2 separate regions of the Homo sapiens genome follow, and region 1 is linked to region 2. Evidence: promoter capture Hi-C in human tissues and cell types (Jung and others, 2019). All regions are on one chromosome and are shown on one strand. The core of a region is centred on a gene start or on the middle of the fragment in contact, and the rest is flanking DNA. Distances in the headings are between cores, read along the strand shown.

Region 1 (7,478 bases), core at 4,784-7,283, 36 kb before region 2:
TGGGGCCACTGTCCAGTTCAGTGCGGCTACGGGATCTGGCCCCTCGATTTTGATCACATTTGTTTTCCTGAACAAGAGTGGCCTAAACACGAGCTCCTGTCTCAGATGAGCGGTCACCCCGTATCTCCCCTTTCCGTGAGGTTAAAGGGGTGTGTTGGCCCTCCCTACCCAAAATGGGGCTCTAAAGAGCTTTCCTTCGATTTCCTGGTCCAGGGATCGGGGACATCCACGTGCCACCCACCCATCCTTAGTGCCTCCTAAGCCATGTCTGGAGCAGCGGCCGGCGTGTGACCACTTTGTGTGCTCTGAGCACCAGGTGCAGACATGCCTCCTGTGGGGCCTCTGATCTCCAAGGGAGGTTTCCGGGAGCAAAGTGAAGTGAAGGGATTGGAAACTCAGGCCACTCAGCCAGCAGGGGCTGCTGAAATGTTCCATGAAGCCCACAGAATTCTTCCAGAGCTTCGCACTGCCTCCGGCTTAAATTTGATCGCTAAAGAAAACCATGTGTTGCCTGGCACAGTGGCTCACGCCTGTAATTCCAGCACTTTGGGAGGCTGAGGCGGGTGGACCACCTGAGGTCAGGAGTTCGAGACCAGCCTGGCCAACATGGCGAAACCCCGTCTCTACTAAAAAAAATTAGCCGGGCGTGGGGGCAGGCGCCTGTAATCCTAGCTGCTCGGGAGGCTGGGGCAGGAGAATCGCTTGAACCCAGGAGGTGGAGGTCGCAGTGAGCCAAGACCACGCCATTGCACTCCAACCTGGGCAACAGGAGCGAAACTGTCTCAAAAAACAAAACAAAACAAAAAAGTGTTGAATTGTTTGTCAGGCAACTTAGACAAAAACTAGATGAAGGGTGCATTGACTCAGCCAGGAAGAGCTGGCGGGTTGGGCTCCCAGTCGCAGATGGACATGGCCAGCACCCCCAAGCCCTCACCAGATGACCAGGGCTGCTCCATCCACCTGTGGGGTTTCCCTTTCCTCGTCTCCCTCCTCCCTCCCTCCCTCTCTCCTTCACCTCCTTCTCCTCCCAGACACTCTGTGGGGACCCACTGTGCGCCCTGAGTCCTCCCTCGGCCCCTCGGAGCACTTAGGGTTCCCCACTCTAGTGTGCCTCGGCCACACGCTGTCCCCGTGGTGGGAACAACTTATCGCTACAGTCGGGGGGCCTGGCCCCTGAGCCTGGACTTCAGGGGGCTTTTGGGGGAGCACTCCGTGGTGGGCTTCCCTCCGCGCCCCCTGGCGTGCTTCCCTCACGGTGACTCAGCCTCTCCTCCTGTCTCCTTTGTTGGCCAGTACGTCCCGGAGGACCTCCTTCCCGTCTACAAAGAAAAAGTGGTGCCGCTTGCAGACATTATCACGCCCAACCAGTTTGAGGCCGAGTAAGTCATTTTATTTTATTTTACTTTATTTATTTATTTTTCAAGATGGGTCTCGCTCTTGTCACCCAGGCTGGAGTGCAGTGGCACGATCACAGCTCACTGCAACCTCTGTCTCCGGGGTTCAAGCAATTCTCCTGCCTCAGCCTCCCGAGTAGCTGGGATGACAGGCGTGAGCCACCACGCCCGGCTAATTTTTGTATTTTTAGTAGTGACGGGGTTTCACCATGTTGGCCAGGCTGGTCTTGAACTCCTGACCTCAGGTGATCCACCCATCTCAGTCTTCCAAAGTGCTGGGATTACAGGCATGAGTCATCGTGCCCAGCAGAGTAAGTTATTTTAAATGGCAAATGCTACCAGTCTTTCCCCAGGGAGAGCTGCAGAGAACATGCCAGAAGGGTCTCCACTCTGCCTTCGGGCTGCCTGTTTAGCTTACGAAGTGGTTCTCAGGAAGGTCCTGCCATGGGGCGAGTGCCCCTTGATACTGGAGCAGGATGTGGTGGGGGCGCCTGGGTTGGAGAAGCCCCTGCCCACCTGGGTCCCAGGCTCACGTCTTCTCTTTGGTGGTGGCAGCCATGGGTGATGGGGATGGTTTTGCTGCCCCTGTGCCTTCCTGAGCGGCAGGGCCCCTGGGAGAGGAAGAGGAGGGGCGACCTGGGGAGCTGTGGGCTTGTCGGGGCCACCACAGCAGAGGGAGGGTGGGGGCAGCACAGGCGGCCAGGTCACCTGCCGCCCTGTGAGGGGAAGAGGAGTGTGTTGGGCTTGGCTGTCTGATACCGAGTTTGAAAAGGTCTTTCTTTGGGTGCATGGCTCCCCCCAGCTGAAGAATCACACACCAGGGGAAGCCACCAGCGCCCCAGTGCCATGAAGAGTGGAGCTGCCCGCGGAGGGGGCTGGTGCCTGTCACAGCTTAGCTCTACCTGGCCCTGAGCCAGGTCTTGAGCCCCCCCATTCACGCAGGGGTGGGGGCGCCTGGACTCTTGGAGGCCTGGGATCCCTGACCTGGGCCTGTCCAAACTTGGGGGTGGCATCTCACTCGAGGCCCCTGAGCCATGGGTGGCCCATGCGTGCATTAATCGCTAGCGGCTCTTTGACTTTGTATGGATGTCAGTCACCCATGCTGAGACCCTGCGCTGTGGCATGGGCCTTAAGTGGGGGCCGTGGCTGCTGTCCATCACCACGGTTACGTATAAACAGCAGCCATGATTGGGCCTTACGTGACTCCTGTAATGTGAGGGTCCCCTTTAGAACCAAACCCCACATGTTGCAGGGGCCCCGGCCCAGGGTGGCCAGTGGACGAAGAGTTAGCTGCCTGTGGGGATGGGGATTTCCAGAGCCGCTGCGGTTTGGGGAATGTCAACACACAACCCGGAGAGGAGAGGCTCACCTGTCCCCACCCGCCTGTCCCCGCCTGTCTTCCAGGTTACTGAGTGGCCGGAAGATCCACAGCCAGGAGGAAGCCTTGCGGGTAAGGAGGCCCTCTGGGGCCTGTGCGGGGCACATGTGCCGCTCACGGTGGGGACGGGAGACAGGCTGCCTGAGTGGCACCACTGTGTCATTTCTCCCCAGCAGTGACTGAACAGTCTGTACCAGTCGGGGCCTCCAGAGATCAGCAGGATATATGTGTGTGTGTACATGTGTGGACATGTTTGTGCATGTGTGTGTGTGTGTGCATGTGTGCGTGTGTGCGCGCGTATTGTGTGTGGGTGTGTGTGTGGATGTGTGCGTGTGTGCGCGCACCCATGTGTGCATGTGTGCACGTGTGTGTGTGCACATGTGCATGTGCGTCTGTGTGCATGTGTGTCCATGGGCGTGTGGGCATGGGTGTGCACGCATGTGTGCATGTGTGTGCGTATGTGTGCACGTGTTTGCACATGTGTGTGCATGTGTGTGTGTGTGTGTGCACATGTGTGTGAAGAGCTATTGTAAGGCGGTGGCTTGAGCTGTGTGGGGGCTCCTGGGCATGTTTGGGATTTGCAGGGCCAGCTGTTGGGAAGGGCAGGCTGGAGGCTGGACACAGGAGCAGATGCAGCAGCCCAAGGTGCAGTTTCTTCAAAGTCCTTTTTCTCCGGGACTTGGAGACCGTGCGTGTCTTGCTAGCATTGAACCTTGGTTGAGTCATCTTAGTCTGTTGGGGCTGCTGTGACAAAATGCCTGAGACTGGATGATTTATAAAAAACAGAACTTTTGGCCGGATGCAGTGGCTCACGCCTGTAATCCCAGCACTTTGGGAGACTGAGGTGGTCAGATCACTTGAGGTCAGGAGTTCGAGACCAGCCTGGCCAACATGGTAAAACCCCATCTCTACTAAAAATACAAAAATTAGCTGGGCATGGTGGTGCACGCCTATAATCCCGGCTAGTTGGGAGGCTGAGGCAGGAGAATCGCTTGAAGCCAGGAGGCGGAGGTTGCAGTGAGCTGAGATTGCACCACTGCACTCCAGCCTGGGCAACAGAGTGAGCGAGACTCCATCTCAAAAAACAAAACAAAACAAAACAAAACAGAACTTTGTTCCCCACAGTTCTGGAGGCTGGGAAGTCCAAGGTCAAGGCACTGGCAGGCTCAGGGTCTGGCGGGGGCTACTTTGCTACCCGGACTGCACCTTGTTGCTGCATCCTCATGTGTGGATGGCAGGGGGCTCGAGGGGCCCATGCTGCTCCCTCCAGCCCTCATCAGGCACAGAGAAAGGGGAGCCCTCATGACTTAATCATGCCCCAGAGGACCCCTTCTGAATATTGCCACATGGGTGCCATGTTTCAACATGCATTTTAGAGCAGACACTGTCAGACTGCAGCAGGAGTCCATGTGCTTTGGGCTGCGTTCCCAAGCAGCCTGGCGCTGCCCTGAATTTTGTCTTCACAACCCAGGAGCCTGGTCCTGAGAATGGGCCACTGCAGCAGCCACTCCTCCCACTCGGAGGCCTTTCGCTGACCTGGTATTGGGTCCTGGGACTGCAGAGTCAGCTGACCCTGGAGCAGGGTCCAGATTCTGCTATGGACACGTGCTGGGTGGCGATGCAGCACATGTGTGTGTGTGTGTGTGTGTGTGTGCGCGCGCGTGCTGCCCGATCTGAGGCAACCGTGCGGTGGAGACAGTTTCTACGAGAGTTACAGAAAAGCCAACGTACAGAGGGGCCAGCTCCTCCTCGCTGCAGGACAGGCACCCATCTGTCCACCCCCCAAGGGGGAGGCCCTCGCCAGTCACCTGTGGGGAGCCACACGGTTTGGGCTGACAGTTTGTGGGGGGATGGTGGCTGACCAGGTGGCTGTCTTCCCTCCGGGAGTGCCGCCATTGGGAACGGGCTCTGGGGGAGTGGGGTGTGACCGGCCGTGGCTGATGCTCCCCGTGCCACTGCCAGGTGATGGATCGGGGAGTGGGGTGTGACCAGCCGTGGCTGACATGTGACCGGCCGTGGCTGACGCTCCCTGTGCCACTGCTAGGTGATGGACATGCTGCACTCTATGGGCCCCGACACCGTGGTCATCACCAGCTCCGACCTGCCCTCCCCGCAGGGCAGCAACTACCTGATTGTGCTGGGGAGTCAGAGGAGGAGTAAGTGCCCCCATCGTGCACCGTGGCCGCCTCTGCTCTTCCCAGAGGAAGGTGTTCTTTGGGGCTGCAAGAATGTTTTGGGTTCAATAGCATGAAATTTAAGCCTTATCCAGCACCGGGATGACACCCCCATTTTACAGACTCTCAGGGATCAGGTGGGATTCCCAAGACCTCACAGGTCACGATGAATGGCCTGGCTGGAACTGGCTTCCACGGACCCAGCATCATAGGCCTCCCTCAGAGCCAGGCGGGGTCCCTGAGTTCACTGGGAGGACGCGTCCACCCGGCTGTGCTGATTGTTTACACAGACACCACCTGGTTGATTTTCTCTGAACAGTGTGAAAATGACGCAGAAGGCTGGGGCCATGCACTAAGCTAGTGGCCGCGGGTTCATACCCATGGGCCCAAAAGAACAGCTGTGACCTCCTTGCCGCTCTATGTTTGGACATGGGAGCCTTGCAGGCACACACATAGGCACAAATGCACATACACTTGGGCACAAATGCACATACGGGCACACACGTGGACATGGGCACACATAGGCATACATGCACACATACACACGGGCACACACAGGCATACATGCACACGGACACATGCATACACACGGACACACATGCATACACGTGGGCACACGCACACACATGCACACACACTCGGATGCGTCCAGGTACATCCTAGTTCTTCACGCCGTCGTTACTCTCGGGAGTTTCACAGCGACCCCCGAGGCGGCCTGACCGTGTGGCCCTCTGAGGGTGCAGTCTTTCCCTTTCCCTTGCTGCGGTGATGGGGACCCCATGCATGCCCTGAGCCCCCACGTCCTGAGCAAGGCCACCTTGTGCTCTGCCCCTGTGACCCTCCCTGCCGCCGTGCCCAGGAGGATCAGGGATGGGAGGCTGGCCCTGGCAGAGGAGCGGCAGATCTCAGTGACCTTGCCCATCTTCTCCCCCTAGGGAATCCCGCTGGCTCCGTGGTGATGGAACGCATCCGGATGGACATTCGCAAAGTGGACGCCGTCTTTGTGGGCACTGGGGACCTGTTTGCTGCCATGCTCCTGGCGTGGACACACAAGCACCCCAATAACCTCAAGGTCAGCCACACGCACCGCTCCCCTCCTCGCCCACTCCCACGGCACCTCATGGGGAGCAGGATATGAGAGTCCTGGTGGGGGGTCCCTGCTGAGCTGACAGGGCATGGCCCTGAGTGCTGGCCCCAGTTGTGGGGGAGGGCAGTGGCCAGGCCATGACAGGAGTTGCGCCTGTCACTCTCACATCGCCTCCCATCTCCCCTTATTTGGGACCTAGGGATGATCAGAGTCTGTGAGGGCTTGGGTGACAGATGTTTCAGAACAGACCCATGGGGGTCCCACCAGGATTCAGATGCCACCCGCTTGGCGTTGGCGCAGGGCTGTGGGATGCATGGAGCTGTTGTGTCCTTGGTGACTTGGGGGCTGCTGCAGAGGAGTGGCACCCTGCAGCATTTCCCACAGTGTGACCACGGCAGTGACCTGAGGGACGGAAAGGCCGGAGCCGCCCTTCGGGGACAGTAGGTGGGAGGCTGAGGACAGGGGTCCAGGCAGGTGTGGAGAGCCGTCTTTCTGGGCGTTTTGTCTGGATGTCTGCCTGCTTTTCAAGTTTGTAGAGATCGGGTGGCTTTGCTTAGACAGTGGGGGGAGTGGGACTGTTGGGCAACTGACATGGCAGGTTGGGATGTGGGGTCTCGTGAGCCTTTCTCGTGTGTCCCATGGGTAAGCACACAGCTCAGCGGGGACAGAGGAGTTTTGTTGCAACTGTGGCGCTCAGATCCGTGACCTCCCGTGCTGCATGCAGCAGAGTTGCTTGTGGCCTCGGCAGGTGGTTTTGTCAGCTGAGTCCGAGGACGCCTGGAGTGTGTCTTCTTACAACACCGTCCAGAGCCGTGCTGTGCTCTGAGGTGGTCCCCAGCCCCTGGGCTCAGCCCCCAAAACTCCCCTGGGTACTTCCCACTGCGTCCGCAGTGGGTTCAGGTGGGAGGGAGGGGCCTGCCATCCCTTTGGAATGTGGGGCAGGGCAGGGGTGCCATGGGAGTGACAGGAGGAAGACAGGACACCTCTGTCACTATTGGGTGCGCTGGGGAAGGAAGAGTTCAGAGGTCAGGACCTGCAGGTGGCTCTCCCTGTGCTGTCTTTGCCGGGCCGCTTAAGGGGCCACGTGTCCCCCGGGGTACACCTCCTCCCCAACAAGTCAGTTTCAGCTGAGTGTCCTGGTGTGTAAAATGGAAGAGGTGGACTGAGGCCCTTTGCCTCCCATGGGACTAGCCCTCTGCACACCCTGAGCTGGAATGCACAGCCCCCTCATTCCATCCCTTCTGGCCCCTCAAGGGCAATTAAACAGGGCCATTAAGTAAGCCTGCCGTGTTTAATTGGTGGTGCAGGGCAGTGGAAAAGTGCCAGCTGGCACCCCGAGGAGGCCTCACTGCCAGGCCGCCCAAGGTCACATTCTGGGTTTGGCCAGCCCAGGGTTGTGGAGTCGGGGAGCGAGTTCCCCGTGCTTCCCCAGCACCTTTGACTCT
Region 2 (6,694 bases), core at 3,774-6,273:
TGAATAGTGGCAGCCAGGTATGATGGCTCATGCCTGTAATCCCAGCACTTTGGGGGACCAAAGTGGGAGGGTCGCTTGAGCCCAGGAGTTCAAGATCAGACTGTGCAAGGTAATGAGACCCCATCTGTGATGGTTCATACTGAGTGTCAACTTGATTGGGCTGAAGGATGCAAAGTACTGATCCTGGGTGTGTCTGTGAGGGTGTTGCCAAAGGAGATTCATATTTGAGTCAGTGGCTGGGAAAGGCGGACCCACCCTTAATCTGGGTGGGCACCATCTAATCAGCTGCCAGCAAGGCTAGAATATAAAGCAGGCAGAAAAATGTAAAAAGACGAGACTGGCCTAGCCTCCCAGCCTACATCTTTCTCCCGTGCTGGATGCTTCCTGCCCTCGGACATCGGACTCCAAGTTCTTCAGTTTTGGGACTCAGACTGGCTCTCCTTGCTCCTCAGCTTGCAAACAGCCTACTGTGGGACCTTGTGATCGTGAGAGTTAATAATTAATAAACTCCCCTTTGTGTGTGTGTGTGTGTGTATATATATATATATATATATATATAAAATAGGATATATATATATATATAAAATAGGATATATATATATATATAAAATAGGATATATATATATATATCCTATTAGTTCTGTCCTTCTAGAAAACCCTGACTAACACACCATCTCTACAAAAAATAAAAAATTAGCTAGCTGAGGTGATGCACACCTGTGGTCCCAGCTATTCAGAAGGCTGGGGTGGGAGGATCACTTGAGCCCTGGAGGTCGAGGCTGCAGTGAGCTGTGATTGCAACACTGCATTCCAGCCTGGGAGATAGAGTGAAACTCTGTCTCTTAAAAAAATAAATAAAATAAAATAAAATAAAAGTAGTGGGACATTTCAGGCCGTTTAAAAATTTGAAATTTTGGTCTTTAATATTCATTAAAAACCAGGTCATATTTTCTTGTCTCCACCTCTAGCCCGGGGGAAAAGAGAAAATACAGTGAAAAAGAGGTTTAAACTTAGTTTTCCTTAAGGCTGAGCCCTAGTGTGACTTTCAGTCAGAAATGGGTTATACTGTGGCCAGGCGTGGTGGCTCACGCCTGTAATCCCAGCACTGTGGGAGGCTGAGGTGGGCTGATCACTTGAGGTCAGGAGTTCGAGACCAGCCCGGGCAACATGGCGAAACCCTGTCTCTACTAAATATGCAAAAATTAGCCAGGTGTGGTGGTGGGCGCCTGTAGTTGCAGCTACTCAAGAGGCTGACACAGGAGACACTTGAACCTGGGAGGCGGAGGTTGCAGTGAGCTGAGATCACGCTACTGCACTCCAGCCTGGGTGACAGAGCAAGACTCTGTCAAAAAAAAAAGGGGGAGGAGGTTACCCTGGAGAGCGTTTTTGTTTCTGCCTTCAACAGGTCATGCCAGCAGAAGAGATTTTTTTTTTTTTGAGACGGAGTCTCACTCTGTCGCCCAGGTTGGAGTGCAGTGGTGCTATCTCGGCTCACTGCAAGCTCTGCCTCCCAGGTTCATGCCATTCTCCTGCCTCAGCCTCCCAAGTAGCTGGGACTACAGGCGCCCGCCACCACACCCAGCTAATTTTTTGTGTTTTTAGTAGAGACGGGTTTCACCTATGAGGTCTGGATCTCCTGACCTCGTGATCCACCCACCTCAGCCTCCCAAAGTGCTGGGATTACAGGCATGAGCCAGCACGCCCAGCCCGAGAAGAGATTTTTTAAAAGCCACTTTATTCGATTTCCAAATCTTAGTCTTCCATATCTTTAGAGACCACCTGCCATGTCCTTTCCGTCTGAAGCCTGGCATCTCGAGCCTGGTGTGAAGGTGTGCTCCCCAGTGCACAACTTCACCCTCCTAGTACAGCTTAGTCCCTCCCACCCTGTTCTCAGCAGCTGGGTGTGACATACCCGCTATGTGCCTGATATACCCACTATGTGCGAGACATACCCACTGTGCACCTGACATACCCACTGTGAGCCTGACATGCCCATTGCATGCACGATACCACCCACTGTGTGCATGCGACATACCCACTGTGTGCAACATACCAACTGTTTGCATGACATACCCACTGTACACCTGACATGCCCATTGTGCGCCTGACATGCCCACTATGTGCGTGCAACATACCCACTGTGTGCGTGCGACATACCCATTGTGCGCACGACATACCCACTGTGCGCGCGACATGCCCACTGTGCACCTGACATGCCCGCTGTGTGCGTGCGACATGCCCACTGTTTGCATGCGACATACCCACTGTGCACCTGACATACCCACTGTGCGCGCGACATACCCACTGTGTGAGTGCGACATACCCACTGTGCGCGTGAAATACCCATTGTGTGTGTGCGACATACCCACTGTGCGTGCGACACACCCACTGTGCGCATGACACACCCTGTGTGCGCGACATACCCACTGTGCGCCTGACATGCTCATTGTGCGCCTGACATGCCCACTGTGTGTGTGCGACATGCCCACTGTGCGCGTGACATGCCCACTGTGCGTCTGACATGCCCACTGTGTGCGTGCCACATACCCACTGTGCACCTGACATACCCACTGTGCGCGACATACCCACTGTGCATCTGACACGCCCATTGTGCGCGACACACCCACTGTGTGCGTGCAACATACCCACTGTGTGCCTGACACTGTGTGCATGCGACATACCCACTGTGTGCGAGACATACCCACTGTGCGCCTGACATGCCCATTGTGCACCTGACATGCCCATTGCGTGCGTGCAACATACCCACTGTGTGCGTGCGACATACCCACTGTGCGCCTGACATGCCCACTGTGTGCGTGCAACATGCCCACTGTGCGTGACATACCCAGTGTGTGCGTGCGACATACCCACTGTGTGAGTGCAGGGCCTCTTCTCATTCGTGCTTGTCCCCCGGAAAGTCATGTCCGCTGGAACCTCGGAATGTGGCCTTAATTTGGTAAACGGGTCTTTCCAGACATGGTTAGTTAACATGAGGTCATGCTAAATTAAGGCAGGCCTAAGTCCACACTGACTGACGTCCTCATAAGAAGAGGAGAGGCTGGCTGGGTGCAGTGCCTCCCGCCTGTAATCCCAGCACTTTGGGGAGACCGAGGCAGCCCGATCACCTGAGGTCAGGAGTTCGAGATCAGCCTGGCCAACATGGTGAAACCCCATCTCTACTAAAAACACAAAAATTAGCCAGAAATTGCTTGAATCCTGGAGGTGGAGGTTGCAGTGAGCCAAGATCGTGCCACTGCACTCCAGCCCGGGCGACAGAGTGAAACTGTCTCAACAACAACAACAACAACAAGAACTAATTCAGATTCTAAAACCAGTTGCTAAATGTTTCCTTTTTTTTTTCTTTTTAGACAGAGTTTCAAAATCTGTCGCCCAGGCTGGAGTGCAGTGGCCGGATCTTGGCTCACTGCAACCTCCGCCTCCTGTGTTCAAGCAATTCTCTTGCCTCAGCCTCCCGAGTAGCTGGGATTACAGGTGCTCGCCACCACACCCAGCTAATTTTTGTATTTTTAGTAGAGATGGGGTTTCACCATGTTGGCCAGGATGGTCTCGAACTCCTGACCTCGGGTGATCCACCTGCTTTGGCCTCCCCAAGTGATGGTTGGGATTACAGGCATGAGCCACCACTGCCAGCCTTTTCAACTTTTTATGAAAAATTTCATACATAGAAAATGTCAGAAGATAGGTCAATGAAGACCTGTATTCCTGCCTGTAGACGCCACACTTGTATTTTTTTGAGACGGAGTCTCACTCTGTCACCCAGGCTGGGGTGCAGTGGCGCGATCTCGGCTCACTGCAAGCTCCGCCTCCGGGGTTCACGCCATTCTCCTGCCTCAGCCTCCTGAGTAGCTGGGACTACAGGCGCCCGCCACCACGCTCAGCTAATTTTTTGTGTTTTTAGTAGAGACGGGGTTTCACCGTGTTAGCCAGGATGGTCTCGATCTCCTGACCTCATGATCCGCCCGCCTCGGCCTCCCAAAGTGCTGGGATTACAGGCGTGAGCCACCGCGCCCGGCCAACGCCACAACTGTTAACAGTGTGCCATAGTTGCTTATCTGCATACACATATGTGCGTGTAATGATTTACTTTTTTGCAGAATGAATTACAGACATCATGACAGGTCACCTTTACCAAAGAGTTCTGCAGTTATTTCTAAAAATAAAGAATATTTTTCTACTTCAGGGTATGTCAAACTGTGGCCCTAGGCCAAATGCAGCCTCCCCGTTTTTTTTTTTGTTGTTGTTTTTTGAGACAGAGTCTCACTCTGTCGCCCAGGCTGGAGTGCAGCGGCGCAATCTCGACTCACTGCAACCTCCGCCTCCCGGATTCAAGCAATTCTCCTGCCTCAGCCTCCTGAGTAGCTGGGATTACAAGCGCCCGCCACTACGCCTGGCTAATTTTTGTATTTTTAGTAGAGACAGGGTTTCACCATGTTGGTCAGGCTGGTCTCAAACTCCTGACCTCGTGATCCACCCGCCTCAGCCTCCCAAAGTGCTGGAATTACAGGCGTGAGCCACCGCGCCCGGCACACCCCTGGTTTTAAAAATAAAGTTTCGAGCCGAGAGTGGTGGCGCCCGTGGTCCCAGCTCCTCGGGAGGCTGAGGCTGGGGGATCCCTGGAGCCCGCGAGGCAAAGGCTGCAGTGAGCCGAGATCGCGCCTTGCACTCCAGCGTGGGTAACAGAGCGAGACCCTGTCTCAGGAAAAAAATACAAGTGGGGTTATAAATAAAATGAGATTAAAAAACAACAGATCTTTGCCTCAGAATCCCGACCCACCGCAGCCCCAGCGAGGCGCAGGCGCAGGCGCAGGCGCGCGCTCGCTGGTTCCGCCCATGCGCACAGGCAGGGAGCGCGCGCCCCCTCTGTAGCCTTCGGCCTCCGGGGGCTGCAGTTGCGCGGCTCGGCCACTGCGCGGCGGTGGCGTGCGCCTGGGCGGTGTCGCGGGCTGTGACGTCACGCCACGCGCCGGGGCCAGGAGGAGGCGGGCGCAGGAGGCGCGTGCTCAGTGTGCTGGGTACCAGGCGACTCCGGGACAGGGGGTCTCGGCCGTCGGCGTCATGGTTTCGCGCGTGCAGCTCCCGCCTGAGATCCAGCTGGCTCAGCGCCTGGCGGGGAATGAGCAGGTGACCCGGGACCGGGCGGTGAGGAAGCTCCGGAAATACATCGTCGCCAGGACTCAGCGGGCCGCAGGTTGGCGGGGGTGTGGGCGGCTGGCGTCTCGGGGGCCGGCTGGGCTGGTGCGGGTGTGGGCGGCGGCGGCCGGAGCTGGGGGCCCTCCGAGCCCTGTGGAACCTCCACGTGGCCGGGCCGGGCAGGCGGGGTCCACTGGCCTGTTCCCGCTGTTACCGGCCCACGGCCCCCGCCGCCGCTTTCCCTCGTGGTGCGGTGACTCTGGTCCCTCTGCGAGAACGCTCCTCCCCAGCCCCGTAACCCCTTTCCTAGCTCAGGCGTCCCCTCCCTCCAGTAGACCATGTACTCCTGCTGCCCTGCTGTTTGGGCACCCAGTATTTTTCCCTCATGGCAGCATTTCCCACTGTTTGCAGTTTTCTGTTTTGCGTTAATTATTGGATTGTTTTCCGATTTCCACTCGAGAGTACCTCTCTGAGGGCCGAGAATCTACTTCTTGTTCATGGTACCAGGTGGTTCTCCGAGCGTGGTCCCCCATCAGCAGTAGCATCCCCTGGACATTTGTTAGAAATACACGTTCTATGCCGGGCGCAGTGGCCCAAGCCTGTAATCCCAGCTACTTGGCACGTCGATGTGGGAGGATCACAAAGGCCCAGGAGTCCAGCCTGGGCAACATAGCAAGACTCCATTTCCATCGCAAAAGAAAAGAAAGAAATGCAAGTTCTAGGATCCCAGCCCTACTAAATCAGGACTGGCATCTGCTTTATGAAGCTGTTCAAGTGCTTCTGCTCCCCACACTCAGCCTGAGAACCACTGCTGCAGGAACAGGTTGCCAGACACATAGGACTTCAGTGAATGTCAACTGAGTAATGTTTTAAATTAAAATTTTTTGTTATTTTTCTGAGTGAGACAGACCTCACTGTCATCCGTGGTGGAGGAGTGCATTGGCACGATTACAGCTCACTGCAGCCTCTACCTCCCAGGCTCAAGTGAGCCTCCCATCTCAGCCTCCCCAATAGCTGGGACTACTGGCACCGTGCGGCCAGGCCAGCTAAGTTTTGTATTTTTTGTACAAATTGGGGTCTTCCTATGTTGCCCAGACTGGTCTTGAACTCCTGGCCTCAAGTGATCCTGCCTCAGCACTCAATTCCAAAGTGCTGGGAGTACAGGCGTGAGCCACCGCACCTGGCCTCAGTAATTTCTGTTTCTCTCGTAGTCTGAATGCCTGAGTTCACTTTCTTCTTTTAGTATTTGAGATATATTACAGGAGAGTGCAGAAGCCCTCAGTATAATGCTGGATGAATTATCACCAACAGATTAACCTTGTGGCCACTGTCCAGCTTAGGAAACCGTCAAGGTTCGCAATTTTGAATTTCCAAAATGGAGTATGGTGCCTGATACCTTGTAGATCTCAGTCGGTTTTACTGTGTGCGTGAAGTAGCAGTTACCTGGAGTAGCCGCATAGCCACAGGCGCGGCAGGTTCTGGGTTAGAAGGATTGTTTGAAGGGGAGGGCCAGATTCTGCCCCCCAGTTGCCTTTACCGTAAG

The links. Contacts are between HindIII fragments. The study calls those that stand out against the background at their distance.
Region 1: a contact is called between a fragment that was not itself captured here and the fragment with the promoter of RRP1 in region 2, in 1 of the 25 tissues and cell types used here (mesenchymal stem cells).

Annotation. Positions count from the first base shown.
Region 1 is chr21:43,747,702-43,755,179 of GRCh38, forward strand. It overlaps PDXK (pyridoxal kinase), which reads left to right. Exons shown (of 11, transcript NM_003681.5): 6 at 1,294-1,379; 7 at 2,799-2,844; 8 at 4,817-4,928; 9 at 5,882-6,018. Among named protein-coding and RNA genes, the nearest start is that of CSTB, 25 kb to the right of the region's middle. The HindIII fragment of the contact is 8,662 bases long and covers 1,703-7,478 here.
Region 2 is chr21:43,784,554-43,791,247 of GRCh38, forward strand. It overlaps RRP1 (ribosomal RNA processing 1), which reads left to right and starts at 5,024. Exons shown (of 13, transcript NM_003683.6): 1 at 5,024-5,209. The coding sequence starts at 5,077. RefSeq lists enhancers at 1,847-2,388, 2,389-2,929, 5,085-5,194 and silencers at 4,825-5,054, 5,265-5,434. The HindIII fragment of the contact is 35,062 bases long and covers 1-6,694 here.